2 separate regions of the Homo sapiens genome follow, and region 2 is linked to region 1. The links are contacts of gene promoters, found by promoter capture Hi-C in blood cells and fetal thymus (Javierre and others, 2016). All regions are on one chromosome and are shown on one strand. Each heading gives the region's core, a stretch centred on a gene start or on the middle of the fragment in contact. The rest is flanking DNA. Distances are from core to core; before and after follow the strand shown.

Region 1 (3,663 bases), core at 358-2,857:
CAAAATGTTCCTTTATTAAATGCTCCTTTATAAGAGTAAAATACATCTTAAGTATATACTATTTTTGATTTCTAAATTATACCCCAATAAAGCTGGAAAAGAAAAAATAAAACATTATTTGATTGTATAAATTTATTGTATTTTTATACATTAAATACATATTTCATAATTTTATTAAAACATAATGCTTATTTTGTGTTAATCTGTATTATATAATATGCACTATTAGTTTAAATAAATTATATGTTAAATAAATGGCTTATCTGATTACACTTTTTTTTGCCAAAATATTTGGGAAACATAAAAAGAACACTAAAGAGAATAATTAGTTATAATTCACAAACCAGAATTTCACATAAATAAAATCATATTTTGTGGGTCTTTTTATTAGAATGTTGAAGGGATAACAGATGTAAAGGCCAAGATAAACAATAAGATGGACAAATTGACACTGCAATTAAATATTGCAATTTATAATGATAATTGAATTAGTTAACCTGATAGCATTTTTAAAAAACTTGTGAGCACAATACTTGCATTATGATAGTTATTCTTTACTTAGCATTATGAAATAACCTTTTGCTTCTTGATGCCCTAACACTTAACAAAGCCTAAGTATAAAAAACAAAAATGGGATATGTAGAAAACTTTTTTAATCTCAAAAAGATGCTTAAATATCAATTAGATTGAGCTTTAGTTTTGTAAGAAAATAGATGTCATAGCTATTTTTATTACTTATGAAATATTAAGTATGCATAATATATTAATTGCAGTTAATGGAAGTAAATATTCCACAGAAGACAATATTTGAGGTCCTCTGTGGGCTAAAAGATGAACCTAACTGCTCTCAAGGGAGATCGACTACAGATAAGAGTTAGGAGGCTACTGAGAAATCCAAAGGCGACTTCCAGAAATCTTTCATGGTCTATAATACAGCAGAGATGTGGCCTGGACTTTGCTTTGTTCCCAGGAGATCAAATCTTTTGAGGTCAAAACAAAGAAACTTGAAATATTGTAGATATAAGTATGACCAGGGGGAACCCAGATACCAGAATCTAACTCATAATATCCAATGTGTCATATATTTACCTATTTTCTCTTTAAATTTTTTTTTAACTTCTAGCTCAACATTATTGAAGAGGAATAAATTTTTTTTGAACTTCTAGTTCAACATTATTGAAGAGGAATATAATGTATTTCCACATCTTCCAAAGGTTTCTGGCATTCCATTTTTATTTCCTGAAATATATCCCTTAAACCATTATAAAATAGAGAAAAACATAAAATAAAATTTGATTAGTGTGAACTTTGGTAGTGTCCAGAAGAGAAGCAATAATTTTACATTCTATCCATCATAGCAGAAATTTGACAATCTAAAATATGGAGGAGACAACTATCAGGATTTTAGCAGACAACATCTATAGAATAGAACATCCAGCAGTTCTTGAATAGCTGAAAATTAACTGACTAGGTTAGAATGAATGTGAGAGGGTTTCCTATACAATTCTGGATATCCTTATGAATGAATGGTTGCATAAGGAAGAATGGTCTTATGTGGGACAAAATTTACTAGGAAATAAAACTTTTTCCGTAAAGCTCTGAAAGGAAGATGTTCAAATGGAAGATGCACTAAGCTATAATCCAAGTGAGAGAGTTGCTGAGATCTAAGGCAAGTAGTTACTTTTCCAATTTATGCTTCAGAGCAAAATGAAAAATAGATAAATATCACATGTTCCCTTAAGCTCAAAATTAAAATGTCTGTATGTAGAATATATATACACATTTCTTGTGAGTCATAGAAGACATCAAACATTAAAGATTTTGATGGAATTATAAGACAAACCAATAAGTAAGCGAACATGTTCCCTATTTGTTGAGTAAAATAATTACATTATTTACTCTATCTTATAGTAAATATACATCATATATAAGATGTTCTATTATCTTGACAATTAGACCAAAATATTAATATTAAAAATAAAATGAATAAATAAAATAACATTATTTTAATATAAATATATGTTTTATTTGCTAAAAATCTTTAATTGGTTTCTCATATCATAAAAAGAATAATGGGTTATTAACAATCTTCTAATTTTCACTTTTATCTTTTGATGAAGTTAAGAGCACCCATTTTATGTTTAGGTGGTAATATCCTTTAATGTATACATGATGAAAAAAAGAAAAATGTATGTTTCATGTGATTGTTTCAACAAAAAAGATAATGATATTTTGCATTAATGGGACACAAAGCAGGTATTATACATTTTATTAGCTGTTTCTCAGTGATGTGGCTTATTGTCTGAAGATATCCTAATTTCTGTTAGATTTAAAGTAAGAGAACTAGTAAATAGGCTGGACTTAGAAAAAAATATTAAAACATAATGCAAACAAGATAGTCAAAACTGTCAGACTGTAGAAGATTTTTAGAATTGTATTGATAATTATATGGATCATGATGAATTATATCTTTTATCTATTTTCCTTAATTATCATTCTACCAAAATATCTTTAAAAGAACAAAAAGGAGAGTGGAAGAAGGAGAGAGAGAAAGGACGAGACATGAACCACACAATGGTCACAGAGTTTGTCCTCCTGGGCCTTTCTGATGATCCTGACCTTCAGATTGTGATTTTTCTCTTTTTATTTATCACGTATATATTAAGTGTTACTGGAAACCTGACTATCATCACCCTAACCTTTGTGGACTCCCATCTGCAGACACCTATGTATTTCTTCCTCCGGAACTTCTCTTTCTTAGAAATCTCATTTACAACCGTATGCATCCCCAGATTTCTGGGGGCAATTATCACCAGGAATAAGACTATTTCCTATAACAACTGTGCAGCCCAACTCTTTTTCTTTATCTTCATGGGGGTGACTGAATTTTACATTTTAACTGCCATGTCCTATGACCGCTATGTTGCCATCTGCAAGCCCCTTCATTACACATCCATCATGAACAGGAAACTCTGCACTCTACTTGTGCTGTGTGCCTGGCTAAGTGGGTTTCTGACCATTTTCCCACCCCTTATGCTTCTCCTCCAGCTGGATTACTGTGCTTCCAACGTCATTGATCACTTTGCATGTGACTATTTTCCCCTCTTACAACTATCTTGTTCAGATACATGGCTCCTAGAAGTAATTGGTTTTTACTTTGCTTTGGTTACTTTGCTGTTCACTTTGGCATTAGTGATTTTATCTTACATGTACATTATCAGGACCATTTTGAGAATCCCGTCTGCCAGTCAAAGAAAAAAGGCTTTCTCCACTTGTTCTTCTCACATGATTGTCATTTCCATTTCTTATGGAAGCTGTATATTCATGTATGCTAATCCATCTGCAAAAGAAAAGGCATCATTGACAAAAGGAATAGCTATTCTCAATACATCTGTTGCCCCCATGCTGAACCCCTTCATTTACACTCTGAGAAACCAGCAAGTAAAACAAGCCTTCAAAAATGTGGTCCACAAAGTTGTGTTTTATGCAAATCAATGAATTTTTGGTCAAAAATAAAGAGCACTTTAAAAAAACAATTAAGCAAAATTTTGAAATTTCTCAATATCTCTGTAAGTATCCTTGCTCTCCTAGTTTCTTTATATGCTATGTTATAGTTAATTTTATATTTTCCCAGTCCATTTCTTCCACTTCTATACAAGTTTC
Region 2 (3,663 bases), core at 388-2,887, 250 kb after region 1:
AAAGGATTAGACAGACTTTTACCCAGGTTCACTTGAACAGCCATATTAGTTGGCTCAACAGCAACAGGATTTACAATTTTTTGAAAGAGGCAGTCTCTTCTTAGGAGAGCAAGCCTCTGAATCTAGGGCATGGATCAGGGTTCCTATTGACAAGGCGGTAGGTGCACAGACTCTGTGGCAGAAGCCTGATCGATACCTCACACCACGGGTTCAGCCAGGGAGTCAGTTGCAGGCTCAATGACAAGCATAGGAGAAAACTGCATCACACGTAATTTAACAAGAACCACTTTGGGCTGTGGTAAATGCAACTTCTAAGGCTACTTCAGAGGTGTTGTAAGAGTCTGCTTTCTGGCATTAGAGCTTCAAGATTCTTTTAAAAAAAAAAGCTACTGTTTTTATTTCTGAAGCTTCTGGTTCTTGAGTGTCTGTCTAGAAGTTGGTTGGTTGTTTAGTGATTCAATGGTCTTATTGGACCCCCTCTAGTTTTATAGACTGTTTTACATTTTCCTTTTCTAATAGGTAGATCCCTGTATTCTGCAGGGACCATGGCCAGTTTAGTAAACGTCTGACTGTAATACCATTCCACTGGCATAGGGACAGACACATGTGCACTCAAAGATCTTGCCACAGTCCGAGTGTCTCTTCAAGTCTCATTACTACATTTATGTTCTCAGCATGCATTTTCATAAAGTGTTGCTTTACGAGAGAAAATTGAGAAAATGGTTTGTGAGAGCGTCCAGGGCATCCATCAACTGGACAACAGTAAAATTTCAGTACGGGTTATCAAACCATTTCTTTTTCTTTTTTTTAACTTTTAAGTTGAGAGATATAAGTGCAAGTCTGCAACTTAGGTAAACTTGTGTCATGGGAGTTTGTTGTACAGATTTCATCACCCAAGTATTAAGCCTGATACCCATTAGTTATTGTTTCTGATCCTCTCCCTCCTCCCTCTCCACCCTCCAGTAGGCCCCAGTGTATGTTGTTCCTTTCTATGTATCCATGTGTTCTCCTCATTTAGCTTCCACCTGTGAGAACATGCAGTATTTGGTTTTCTGTTCCTGAGTAAATTTGCTAAATATAATGGCCTCCAGCTCCATCCATGTCCCTGCAAAAGACATGATTTTTTTCTTTTTTATGGCTGCATAGTATTCCATGGTGTATATGTACCACATTTTCTTTATCCAGCCTATCATTGAAGGGCATTTAGGTTAATTCCATGTCTTTCCTATTGTGAATAGTGCTGCAATGAGCATACGCATGCATGTGTCTTTATAAGAGAATGATTTATATTGCTCTGGATATATACCCAGTAATGGGATTGCTGGGTTGAACAGCATTTCTGCCTTTAGGTCTTCCAGGAATCACCAAACCATTTATTATTGTTGGGTCTACTATTCCATCCTACAGGCAGTGGCTGTTGACCAAGAACATGCTGAGCGTGGGGCTGCTGGGCAGGATCTTGCACAGCCAAGCACTGTGTGCAGGTTATTGGTCCACACTGCCTGGGACAGCTTGATCACCAACTGCTGGATCAGCTCCCAGGCTGATGGCATCAGGCTGCAGGCTGCTGTCCCTCAGCTGGGGTCCCAGAGGCCCCCACAGGCTTGAGGCAGCCTTGACTTCCCTTGTGGCTGCCAGGATGGCCAGGGGGCCAGCCGCCAGCACTGCTGTCAAGGTTCCCATACAGCCACAGAGGCTGATCATCTATACTACTCTCTGATCTGAACTATGATTATCTGTGAGTCAGTTAGTGAAAGATATTCCAACTATATCTGCTATGCTATGTTCCTTTAATTTAGAAAAAGACAAATATGAAAAACATTGTAACCTCAATCCTGAGTAGAGTAAAGGCAAGAGTATAAAAATTTCTTTGTACGTTTCTCTAATTTATTTTACTTTATTTAACACACAAGGAGACAACATTTCTCTACTTTAAATATCTCAATAAAGAATCTTGGTGACCATTTTCATCAAATGTGTAGCATTTGATGAAATCATATATACTTCCTCCAAAATATTATGATATAGCCTCCTTTGTGACAAAGAAAACTCCACAGAACATAATATTCTTGGAAAATACTGTCTCCAGTTTGACATGCCATAGATACTAGGCATGTTAGGCCTGTACCATAATTCAAGTATTGTCTGGATGGAGCTGGACAGTGAGGCAGCTATCTAATCCTACTAGCCATAATACTTTATTTCATGTTAAGTTCCCACACCAATGTTATGTTTGTCCTTTCCCAAAAATATAGAAAATCATAAAAATATCACTAGTAAAAATTCAGACTGTCATAACATTTAGTTCTTCCTGCAATTTTGGAAAATTATCACAATTTCAATAAAATTTCTAAGAACTTAAAAATAGGAAGAGTATCAACAGTAGTTAAAATTCATGGAAATTCAGTGTCTACACCAGCAATTCCTTGTTTTGCTTTCTTTTCTAAAACTGTCAAGAATAATTGCAAATAAATACCCAAAAGGAAGAGATTATATAGATTATAACTGGCTTATTAATTATTTAAATATTTATTGGCTTGAACTGTGGGTGAACAATTCTTTGCATGAGAAAATGCAGGGAAATTCTAGAACTTTCACAGCTTTGCATAAAGTTATTTCTTCTTCATAGGAGCTTCCTGCATCTTTTTGGACCTTTTGGATGTGAAGTCTCTGATAGCATAGATCTAATTACTCCCAGAATATATACATGCTCACAATGTAGCATCATCATAAATTTGATGGGCTAAAACTGTGCCCACCTAGGTCATCCACCTCTAGACTGCCTAGTACCAGGTTCATACTGTGCATATTTAGTGCCTCTGACTGGTCTGATCCTATATATGAAAAGGGTCTCATTATTATATAACAGAAGCTTGTACATCAAAAGTTGATTCAGCACAAACTGTTACCCCTCCCCACTTATGCCCATATCACTCACTCTTTATTCCACACATATTCTCCCTCTCAAGGCCTTTGGCTTTGGCAATTTCTCACAAAGTAATGTTCCCCTGCAGTTCTTGCCTGATTCAATTAACTTCCTTTTATCAATAGCTGTCATTTTTGTTTGTGTTAGCATCTCCCTTTCTCTGATAAATATTTCACCCTGCTCCAGTCTTGGATTTCTGATGGAACTGTCAATCCACTCATCTCTCCTTATTTGACGTCATTGATAAACATACAAACTGGCCCATTCAATTATGATACCACATTCCCCTAGCTAAAAGATTGAGTCAGAGTTAAGCATATGAACCAAGATGGACCTTATGACCTTTTTGATTTAGACTTGAAAGAAAAGAGAGATGGTGCCATGCTTTCTGGATCATAGATTTCAAGGACTATATATTGGAGACTGTCTACTGTCTTCCAAGTGAAAAAATCTGTCTCAAGAAAAACACCAACCTTAAAAGAAGAAAATGGGGAGAGAGTAACTATGTTTGAGTCCCTGTATTCTAGATCTAGTAACACCTGAAACCAGTTACTGCTGGACTTATACATTATGTGAATTATAAATTTCTGTCTTCACTTAAGATAGTTTGGCTTGGGTTGCTGTCATGTGAAATCAAAAGATTCCTGATTATTCCTTCCCGGATTTTAGTTCTGTGATTTTAAACTAAGCTCTACTCTTCACCATAATACACAATTAATACCCAACAAAAATGGAAC

What was found. Contacts are between HindIII fragments. The CHiCAGO score rates a contact against its expected background, and 5 or more counts as called.
Region 2: a contact is called between a fragment that was not itself captured here and the fragment with the promoter of OR6C3 in region 1, in 2 of 17 cell types (neutrophils and total B cells). The highest score is 8.8, in neutrophils.

The regions. Positions count from the first base shown.
Region 1 is chr12:55,329,139-55,332,801 of GRCh38, forward strand. It overlaps OR6C3 (olfactory receptor family 6 subfamily C member 3), which reads left to right and starts at 1,608. Exons shown (of 2, transcript NM_001388498.1): 1 at 1,608-1,669; 2 at 2,519-3,498. The coding sequence starts at 2,563. The coding sequence ends at 3,498. The HindIII fragment of the contact is 8,486 bases long and covers 1-3,663 here.
Region 2 is chr12:55,580,689-55,584,351 of GRCh38, forward strand. It overlaps the pseudogene ATMINP2. Among named protein-coding and RNA genes, the nearest start is that of OR2AP1, 10 kb to the left of the region's middle. The HindIII fragment of the contact is 2,465 bases long and covers 406-2,870 here.